Linked DNA regions of Homo sapiens: all the other regions are linked to region 4. Evidence: promoter capture Hi-C in 16 types of primary human blood cells and fetal thymus (Javierre and others, 2016). All regions are on one chromosome and are shown on one strand. The core of a region is centred on a gene start or on the middle of the fragment in contact, and the rest is flanking DNA. Distances in the headings are between cores, read along the strand shown.

What was found. The method cuts DNA at HindIII sites, captures the fragments that hold promoters and counts their contacts. A CHiCAGO score of 5 or more calls a contact.
Region 1: a fragment that was not itself captured here is called in contact with the fragment with the promoter of OR4L1 in region 4 in 1 of 17 cell types (total CD4 T cells); the score reaches 5.6 in total CD4 T cells.
Region 2: a fragment that was not itself captured here is called in contact with the fragment with the promoter of OR4L1 in region 4 in 11 of 17 cell types (total CD4 T cells, non-activated CD4 T cells, activated CD4 T cells and 8 more); the score reaches 11.6 in total CD4 T cells.
Region 3: a contact is called between a fragment that was not itself captured here and the fragment with the promoter of OR4L1 in region 4, in 4 of 17 cell types (total CD4 T cells, M2 macrophages, neutrophils and 1 more). The highest score is 9.5, in total CD4 T cells.

The regions. Positions count from the first base shown.
Region 1 is chr14:19,731,151-19,733,864 of GRCh38, forward strand. It overlaps the pseudogene OR11K2P. Among named protein-coding and RNA genes, the nearest start is that of OR4Q3, 11 kb to the right of the region's middle. The HindIII fragment of the contact is 7,271 bases long and covers 1-2,714 here.
Region 2 is chr14:19,768,872-19,771,571 of GRCh38, forward strand. No RefSeq gene overlaps it. Among named protein-coding and RNA genes, the nearest start is that of OR4M1, 3.3 kb to the right of the region's middle. The HindIII fragment of the contact is 157 bases long and covers 1,251-1,407 here.
Region 3 is chr14:19,748,137-19,750,836 of GRCh38, forward strand. It overlaps OR4Q3 (olfactory receptor family 4 subfamily Q member 3), which reads left to right. Exons shown (of 2, transcript NM_001405963.1): 2 at 1-1,333. The coding sequence ends at 233. Among named protein-coding and RNA genes, the nearest start is that of OR4Q3, 5.9 kb to the left of the region's middle. The HindIII fragment of the contact is 6,740 bases long and covers 1-2,700 here.
Region 4 is chr14:20,058,722-20,061,481 of GRCh38, forward strand. It overlaps OR4L1 (olfactory receptor family 4 subfamily L member 1), which reads left to right and starts at 1,324. Exons shown (of 1, transcript NM_001004717.1): 1 at 1,324-2,262. The coding sequence starts at 1,324. The coding sequence ends at 2,262. The HindIII fragment of the contact is 2,043 bases long and covers 1-1,879 here.

The DNA of each region.
Region 1 (2,714 bases), core at 214-2,713, 330 kb before region 4:
GAAGTAGGGGTTGACTATACTCTTTCATGTCACTTGGCACCCTCCAAAGTAAAAGGAATTTGATGTAATCAATTTGCCACCCATTGCTGGCTGGTTTTCTCAAAGATTGGTGCCATATTGAGGGCTTAGCATTGGTTTCTCATCGAGGCTGCATCTTCAGTGGCTCAGTGATTTGTCACCAACCTTGGTAAGATAATGCCTGTATTTTTTGGCTTGTGGATATTTTCCATTTATACAACTTTCTTTGTATTCCCTTTTATAAGCTCTGAGGTGAATGAAATCAGAGCTGACTGACATTTTTAGATGACTTATTCTTTTCACCTAGGTATTGAGTGCCTCCACTCTGGAGGATACTCTCTAATGGGCACAGAGTTGAGAAACAAAGATCTGCATACTTTGTGCTTATTCTCATAGGCCCATACATAGGCCTCCACCTCAAATTTCATTAAATCTGATTTTTCTGTATTTTGGGGGGGCTTTGCTTAGTGAAGTTTTTTTACAACAATCATTATTCTACACATATCCTTATCTTGCATAGCAAGCTATTTTTCCCAACATTCAAAGTGGACAACTAAGTATATTGCTACCAAATCATTGGTTTATGAGGATTTCCTCCACCACTACATTCTATGGCTACCCTGGAGAGGCGTTAAGCTGCAGCATTAGTCAGTTTTTATCTTGTCTAAGTGTAGATTCAGACAATCCATTTGTGAGCCAAGCCTGAGGCTGTTTCTTCCTTTATTAGCTGGTTGTGTGAAATACCATGAAGCCATAGGTATGAACTGAGGAAGAGATATTGTCACAATGAAGGCATGTTTGTATCTTACGGAAATGCTTTTTACTGTATCAAATAGTTTTCAATTCTTTCTATCAAGTGCCAGCAAGCTCAATATGAGATAGAATTTAATATTGGTAAGATAAGATTGGTTAATGATCAACTTGAAGATAATTACAAATATGGGCACTGTGCACATTTATAACAGTTGAGATTATATTTTATTAAGAATTTCTATCATTTTTTCTCATATAATTAAGAAATATAAACAAAACTGGCATGGACAGGTGAAACTCAGTGCTAAATTTATCAGCACTTTAAAGAGAGCCCACCGTTGAAGTCAGTTTGAACGAAGTTCTAAATTGTTTGTATTTTCTTCCTATATAAAAGAGTTTTTCAGGCAAGTATTTAGCTACTTAATTTACATTTCACATGCGAAGTATAATAAAACAACCACTCTTTTCCCCAGAACTCACATAAATCCTTCCTTTCAAACCCAGAAAATATTCTCAACTCAGCTTCCTTGTGACACAAAAACTAATTGCAGTAGCACCTCATTTTGTGGAGCAAATAGCTATGAAGTCTTACAAATTAAAATTCTGTAAACTACATTTCATATTGTGATTCCTTTTTATTAAGTTTTTGAGAGTTGTATTTGAAAAAATGGCATAGAACAAAAGTCAAAATTAAAGCAAGATATTAGTCAAATATTTTATAAAATGGATTTTAAGAGTTTTGTTTTAGTACTGTCCAGCAGTACTCAAATAAGTCACACAGTATTAATACTAAATTAGTTATGATATCAAATCCTGTGTTTAAAGTGGGTTTACAACAAAGCAAGCTATATCCTGAGTAATGCTCACCTTTTTGTTTAGGTCTTTGCTGCACTATATTCCAGGTAACAAATCTGCTTTAAATTCCTAATTCTTGGTTGTGTACTCTCTGAAAAAACACTGAATATCAAACTAAGGCTATTAGTCTATTTACATAATGTAAAGACCACTTGCTACATTTTGACAAGCTGGACTTCTTAAAACTTGGCTCTTTTTCAGCCAGTATCTCCTAGTGGATAATGATTGGATTATAGTGTTAATTGTGAGAGCAGTCTATGATATCTGTCACATGTGTTATCAATTGCTTTAGCTCAGTAATACAAAAAGGATGTCTGTATTCTTTTTGAAAAGTTGAATTACATATACAGGTTCTGATTTTACATACTTATTATTCACTTCAACAGAAAATCTAGTTCACTGTTGAAACATACTTAAATAAGACCACAGTAATGCAGATTGTGGTGAGTGGTATTTAAGATGTTAATGGCTCATTATTATAGCAGTTGTTAAATAAAACAATAAATTTGTAGACAAATATTCATGTATAATAAAGTTACATTTGATAAATGAAAATTGTCTCTTATTTATATTTTATTAACATCTTTTCCAGTCCTGAAGATTTTCCTCAGAGAATCTTTCATCTCTTTGCTCCTGAGACTATATATTAGAGGATTACAGAGTGGTGTTATCACAGAATAGAACAAGGTAATGATTTTTTGCATTTTTACTGGGTGTGCTGATCCAGGACTAACATACATCACCATGATAGAGCCATAAAACAAGGTGACAACTGCCAAATGAGAGGCACAAGTGGAGAAAGCCTTTCGTTTGCCAGCCTCTGAAGGCATCTGTATTACAGCCAGAATCACCAGAGCATAGGAACAAAGGATAAAGAGAAAGGTGCCAATCATGAAGATAGAATTGAATGTGGAGTAAATGAGCTAGGTGATGATTATGTCTGCAGAACAGGACAGCATCACCAATGGTACAGGATCACAAACAAAATGGTTGATAATATTTGGGCCACAGTAGGATATCTGTGAAATGAGAATCAACAGAATTAGGAAGATTACAAAGACACATGACCATGCAAAGATGATAAGGCC
Region 2 (2,700 bases), core at 79-2,578, 290 kb before region 4:
TTTCTTAATAATATTCTTTCTGGATGATTTATCCATTGTTGAAAATTGGATATTAAAGTTCTCTATTAATATTGCATTGCAGTCTATCTCTTGCTTTAGATTTGTTAATATTTGCTTTATATATTTAGGTGCTCTGATGTTGGGTGTATTCATATTTATAACTGTTCTATTATCTCAATGAATTGACTTTCTTATCAATATCTAATGACCTTCTTTGTCTCTTGTGACAGTATTTAAAGTCTATTTTGTCTGATACACATGTAACTGCTACTGCTCTTTTTTGATTTTCATTTTCATGGAATATTTTTGTTTTTTACCCCTTTACTTTTAGTCTGTGTGTGTTATTAAAGGTGAAGTGAGTTTCTTGTAGGCAGCATTAAGTTGGATTTTATTTTTATAAATCAATTCAGCCACTCTTTGTCTTTTGATTAACAAAATTTGCTTATTTATAGTTGGTAAGTAAAGATTTATTATTGTCAATTTATTAATTGTTTTCTGGTTGCTTTGTAGATCCTTTATCCCTTTATTACTCCTTTGTTGTTTTCCTTTGTGATTTGATCATTTTATTTGGTGGTATGCTTTGATTCTTTTCTGTTTATCTTTTGTGTATTTACTATAGATTTTTAATTTGTGGTTGCCATGAGGCTTACATAAATATTCTTATTGTTTAACCAATTCATTTAAAGACGATAACATCTTAACTTTGATTGCTAAAGAAGCTCTGTACTTTTACTTCCCTTCTCTTACATTGTGCTTTTGATGTTACAGTTTACATTTTTTGTATGTCTTAAGAATTTATTATAGCTATAGTCATTTTGCATACATTCATCTTATAACTTTATAATGATGGTGTGATTCACACCACCACCATTATAGTGTTTGAATATTCTAAATTTAACCATATATATACTTTACCAGTTAGTTTTACATTTTTGTATGTTTTAATGTTACTAATTAGCTGCCTTTTATTTAATCTTAAAAATCCCCCTTTAGCATTTCTTGTAAGGCAAGCAATAGTGAAGACTCACTCAACTTTTTTTGTTTTTCTAAAAAAGTCTTTATCTTCTTCATTTCTGAAGGACAGCTTTGCTGGCAAAATATTGCTGGTTGGCAGTTTTATTTTTCTTCCATCACTTTGAATATATTATTTCATTCTCTCCTGATCCTCAAGGTTCCTGCTGAGAAATCCACTGATAGCTTTATTTGGGTCCTTTTTTATATGACATGATTCTTTTCTCTTGCTGCTTACAAGCTTCTCTGTTTTTGATTTTTGCCAGGCTGATGTTAACGTATGTTTGTGGATTCTTTTTTTGGTTGAATTGACTGGAGAACTTTAGGCTTCGTGCATGTGGATGCTCATTTCTTTCCGGATATTTGCTAAGTTTCCCATGATTATTTCCTTAAATAAGCTTTCTATCTAATGCTCTCTCTATTTTTCTTCTGAACCTACGATAATTCTAATGTTAGCTCTCTTGATAGTATTCCATGGCTTCTGTAGGTTTTATTCTTTTTTTTCTTTTATCTCCACTTACTGGATGATTTAAAATGCTCGGTCTTTGAGTTCACTTATTTTTTTATTCTGCTTCATTTAGTCTGATGTTCAAGCCTCTATTACATTTTTTTTTAGTTTAGCTGTTGTATTTTTCAGCTCCAACATTTCTGTTTGGTTCTTTTTAAAATATTTTCTCTCTTTATTGAGCTTCTCATTTTGTTCTTGGATTGTCTTCCTGATTTCATTAAACTATTTATTTGTGTTCTCTTGTAGTTCCCCAAGATTCCTTATGTAATTATTTTGATTTTTTCCAGGCAATTTATAGATCTCCAATTCTTTGGGGTTGGTTACTAGAAATTAATTTTGTTCCTTTGGTGGTGTCATGTTTTCCTGCTTCTTTGTGATCTTTGGGTGTTGATTTTGTCAGTGACTAAACCTGCTGGAGTCCTCTGTGGAGTTAAGTACTATAGTTTGCGCAGTGATCATTGTGGGTTCCTTGGTAGTGAAAGCAGTGTGGTATGTGCAGCTGATAATGGCAGGAGACAGACAGATTCCTAGGCAGACAGGTATAAGTCCCTGGTGAATCCCAACCTTCAAGCCAAAGACAACATGAAGCCTGAAAACCAAGCCACCAGTTCCAGGTGCAGTCCACGACCCAACTGAGAACTTCCTCAGTGCCTTTTAGTCAATTAAATGGTGCTTTTTCCAGGCCTGCCCATGAACCAGTCAGCACACATTCCTCCATTCTGAGCCCATAAAAACCCCAGACTCAGCCTCACAGATGGCTCTCTGCTTTCAGTCCCACTCTTACACAGAGGGCTACCCACTTTGGCTACTCTCTTGTTGTCATGAGTTTTTCTGCCGCTCAGTAAAAATCTCATCAGCCTTGCTCACTCTGCGGTGTCTATATGCTTCATTCCTGTTGGTTGTGGGACAAGAATCCGGAATCCACTGAACAGTGGGTGCGAAAAGAGTTGTAAGACACGCTCCTGTTCACCAAGCTACAGGAGTGAAAAAAAAAATGCTGGGTGCCACACGTCCCCAGTTGCTGAGCTGTGGGCAGCAGGACTGAATGAGCTGTGACATACCCCCATTTGCTGAAGCTGTCGGCAGTGAGAACGAACAAGAGCTGTAACACTTCCTGGGGGCTCAGACCTTGACTCCCAGAGGAAAAGCTGTAACACCTCTTTGGGCTCCACAGTTGCTGG
Region 3 (2,700 bases), core at 164-2,663, 310 kb before region 4:
TCTTCTCTACCTGTGCTTCTCACCTGACAGTGGTCAGCCTGATCTTCGTGCCATGCGTATTCATCTATTTGAGGCCTTTCTGCAGCTTCTCTGTGGATAAGATATTCTCCTTGTTTTACACAGTGATTACACCTATGTTGAACCCCCTCATCTACACACTCAGAAATACTGATATGAAGACAGCTATGAAGAAGCTGAGGATAAAACCATGTGGCATTCCATTGCCTTGTTAAGGAATGAGCAGAAGAGGTGATTTGAAAAACACACTCTTTCTTGGAAGACTCTTAACTCATCTTGTACATGGGTAAAAACCACTTTGATGACGTTGGTATAAAAGAGGAGATAGCATAAAGATTATAATGGATCACTCTTGATTACAATTTAAAAGCATAGGTGGCACTCTAGAAAGCCACCTATGCCTTTTGACCATAATCAAGAGAACTCAGGAACTCAGTAGAATTTACTGGCCACAAACGATAACAAGCATTAATTGAAAGATCAACTTTTCTATCTTTATGTCTCTAAGTACTGTTCATTTATTCAATTTTTTCCACTTTTTAATCTATTCAAATGAAAGAAGATATATCTCTTTTTGTGTTCAGTTCCTCCAGCATTTAATGATTCCTAGTGTTAGGAAGTTCCTTCTGATGTCTCATCAGATCCTTTTCTGAAGTAGTGTGAATTTCTTTGTTCTGTTATAACAAAGCCTGAGAACAGTAACAACCACCTATGTGTAGTATTTACCTCAGAACTGTGTTCCACAGTGTCCCAAGTTTTAGAAATGTAGTCAGGCATCAGTCTAATGAACATATGCTCTTAACAAAGTTTATGCGTGAGAGAAAGGAAGTCCAGGAGTGCAGGGGTGATGGAAGCTGTTAGTATTCTGTTGTAGAGGCTTCTCAAGAAGAGGTACCTAGTTTCACACTGAGTTTTTCTTTGATTGGAATTACAGTGGGGGTGAATAGATAAGCTGGCTCTTCAACTGACCATAATGTTTAAGAGTTTTAACCTCTAAAGGAACAGAGGAAGAAATGAACTGTGATTGAAAGCACTCATTTTTGAGATGCTCACAGTTATTACCTCTGAGTCTCAAACATGCTTTGAGGAATAAATTTACTTAACTTCATTTTTGAGAATGAACTCAGAGTTAAGTGACTTGCCCATGACCACTTAGAAGAAATGCAATCAATCAAGAAAGCTCTTTGTAATCCCAGCACTTTGGGAGGCCAGGGCAGGCAGATCATCTGAAGTCAGGAGTTTGAGACCAGCTTGAGCAATATGGAGAAACCCCGTCTCTACTAAAAATACAAAATTAGCCGGACGTGGTGTTGCATGCCTGTAATCCCAGCTACTCAGGAAGGCTGAGGCAGGAGAATCACTTGAACCCAGGAGGCACAGGTTGCAGTGAGCTGACATCGCACCACTGCACTCCAGCCTGGGCAACAAAAGCAAAACTCGGTCTCAAAGCAAAAAAAAAAAAAAAAAAAAAAAAAAAAAAGAAAGCAAGCTAATAATTATATAATTAAGTTAATATTTTATTTCTCCTCAGAAAGAGTATTTATCCCAATTATACAGATTGCTTCTTTCTTTCTTTTTCTTTCTTTCTCTCTCTCTTTCTTCTTTCTCTCTTTTTCTCTTTTTCTTTCTCTTTCTTTCTTTCTCTCTCTTTCTCTCTATTTCTTAGAGTATTTATCCCAATTATACAGATTACTTCTTTCTTTCTTTCTTTCTTTCTTTCTTTCTTTCTTTCTTTCTTTCTTTCTTTCTTTCTTTTTTCTTTCTTTCTTTCTCTCTCTCTTTCTTCTTTTTTCTCTTTTTCTTTCTCTCTCTTTCTCTCTTTCTTTCTTTCTTCTTCTTTTTTTTTTGAGACAGAGTCTCACTCTTGTCTCCCAGGCTGGAGTGCAGTGGCACAATCTTGGCTCACTGCAACCTCCGCCTCCCAGGTTCAAGTGATCCTCTTGCCTCAGCCTCCCAAGTAGCTGGGATTACAGGTGCTGGCCACCATGCCTGGCTAATTTTTGTATTTTTAGTAAAGACGGGGTTTCTCCATGTTGGCCAGACTGGTCTTGAACTCCTGACCTCAGGTGATCTGCCTGCCTCAGCCTCTCAAAGTGCTGGGATTACAGGCATGAGCCACGACACCCGGCCAGATTACTTAATTTCTATAATACCTGTATAGGAGCTTCAGAGCTGGAAAATCCCTAAAAAGGTTAACTTAAGCATTTATATTTAAGATTATCCATCTCTGACATAGGATCCTTGCAATATTTTATGGCTATGAAAATGTGTTTATTCTATTTACTATATAATAAGATAATGACAAACTTTTACAATGTTTTTTATATTTTGTCACTTTATCTCCTAATGAATTGCCATAGAGAGGCTTTTATGATTACTTAGCTGAAAAATATACCTGTGAAAAAAATGTCTGAAACTCCATCTAATACTAGGATATACTGGAAAATTGCAATAACCCTGGTCGTGTAAGAGCTTTCTTGATATAGGGACAAAATATGTATTTTTATTTTTGTGTTGGGAGTTAATGACTTTATATTTAAGAAGCCATATATATGTATGTGTATATGTATATATTGCTATAGAAGGACTCCTCACAGACTAGGAACTAGGCTGCCATTTGGGAGATTTCTAAATAGTGTGGGTGAGGGTGAGAATGACATACCTGGAACATCATGTTCTTCT
Region 4 (2,760 bases), core at 74-2,573:
TCGTTACCGCTGGTGAGCCTACATTGCACATTATTATCTCCCCAAATTTGTAGTTTACATTAGGATTTACTCTTGATGTTATACATGCTATGGGTTTTGACAAATGTGTTATGTATTTCTAAGTATAGTAGATAAGAATTGTTTCAATACCCTGCAAATTCTCCGTACTTCTCTTATTTCTTCATTTCTCCTTCTTCATTCAAACCCCTGGAAACCACTGAACGTTTAACTGTCTCCAGTTTTTTCTTAGTTTATTTCAAATAAAAGACATGCAACTTTTCCTTTTACTTGAACACTTAGAGGCTATTGCAAAGCTATTAATTGGCCTAAATCCAATATTGTTGTATCTCAAAGAATAGAGAGGCCTGAAGAGAAGGAGAGAGATGAGGGAAGAGTAGGTTGGTGGAGCCGTTAGAAACAACATTTATCAATTGTCTGCCATTCTACATGGGCACGGCTTGTGGTGCCCAAAAATAATGAAAATAGTAACATAAAAGATTACTGGTCACAGATCAAATAACGTGTAATAATAATAATAAAGTTTGAAATAAATATTTTGGGAATTACCAAAATGTGACACAGAGACATAAAGTGAGCACATGCTGTTGGAAAAATGGTGCCAATAGACTTGCTGGATCCAGGGTTGTCACAAACCCTCAGTTTATAAAACATTAAATAACTGCAAAGGACAATAAAGTGAAACACAATAAAAGAGGTATACATGTATATTAAAAAGAAAAATTATTTTAAATAAATTTATATACTTTCATCCATGTATAATTTGCTCCTGATTTGTGTGTGTGTGTGTGTGTGCTTTTTGTTTGTTTGTTTGCTTATTTAGTTTAGAACCATAGAAAAACCTTCATAAATTACTTCAGAGATGTAGAACAATGTAATTCTTCATTTTCTAAATCTTGTATTCCTTATATATTGGGATAACATAATCTCAAGAAGTGCAGGTACAGAATACTATAATAATAAAAGGCAAAATAAAAAGTAATTAATTAGTATCTAATCTTTATATGTGAACAAATGAGTAAGAAAGTCAAGATCCATTGATAAGAGTATGATTTTATGGAATAAACAATAGAAAATGGAACTTCTACTTCTTCAAATGATTTGTAATTACTGCAGAGTAATTGTTTCAAAGTGATATAATATTTAAGCTAATCTCTGTGTTGATATATTTAAAATTATATGATCTCATATCATCAACTATTATCACCAACTAATAGAAATAAGAAAATATTGGTGTTAACTGTGACTTATTTTTTAATTCTCTTTGTATATAAAGAACTTCTGGAACCTTTCTGAGTTGAGTAAATGGATCTTAAAAATGGATCTCTAGTGACCGAGTTTATTTTACTAGGATTTTTTGGACGATGGGAACTTCAAATTTTCTTCTTTGTGACATTTTCCCTGATCTACGGTGCTACTGTGATGGGAAACATTCTCATTATGGTCACAGTGACATGTAGGTCAACCCTTCATTCTCCCTTGTACTTTCTCCTTGGAAATCTCTCTTTTTTGGACATGTGTCTCTCCACTGCCACAACACCCAAGATGATCATAGATTTGCTCACTGACCACAAGACCATCTCTGTGTGGGGCTGCGTGACCCAGATGTTCTTCATGCACTTCTTTGGGGGTGCTGAGATGACTCTTCTGATAATCATGGCCTTTGACAGGTATGTAGCCATATGTAAACCCCTGCACTATAGGACAATCATGAGCCACAAGCTGCTAAAGGGGTTTGCGATACTTTCATGGATAATTGGTTTTTTACACTCCATAAGCCAGATAGTTTTAACAATGAACTTGCCTTTCTGTGGCCACAATGTCATAAACAACATATTTTGTGATCTTCCCCTTGTGATCAAGCTTGCTTGCATTGAAACATACACCCTGGAATTATTTGTCATTGCTGACAGCGGGCTGCTCTCTTTCACCTGTTTCATCCTCTTGCTTGTTTCTTACATTGTCATCCTGGTCAGTGTACCAAAAAAATCATCACATGGGCTCTCCAAGGCGCTGTCCACATTGTCTGCCCACATCATTGTGGTCACTCTGTTCTTTGGACCTTGTATTTTTATCTATGTTTGGCCATTCAGTAGTTTGGCAAGCAATAAAACTCTTGCCGTATTTTATACAGTTATCACACCCTTACTGAATCCGAGTATTTATACCCTGAGAAATAAGAAAATGCAAGAGGCCATAAGAAAATTACGGTTCCAATATGTTAGTTCTGCACAGAATTTCTAGATGTTAGCACTATATAATTAACTTTTAAATGCTACGATAAGATAGTTTGAATAGATTATGTATAATGCATCATTTCACTTTTCTTATGTTATAATAATAACGCATAAAGACAATACTAAATTACTTTAAATTTTACATTTAAGACTTTTATAAACATAAGGATAGAGATCTGCAGCAAAATAGACATAAAAATAGACATAAATAAACATAAAAAGATTATTGAGGATTTTTATCATATACATTCAATATATTCATTAATAAAGAAACAACTGTAAATGAATACATGAAGATATGAATATTATTAGAGGTTATTTTAATATATATTGATAATGTTATTCATAAATTTATACTATTATTAAATGAGGTATCATGAACAAGTCATGAATTAAATAATGTTAACAGAAAAAGCAATTCTAGTTTCTTGAATCAATGGAGGCAAAAAGTAAGAATGAGTCCACAAATTCAACAGCACAGTGACTATAAGATGCCAGAGAAAAA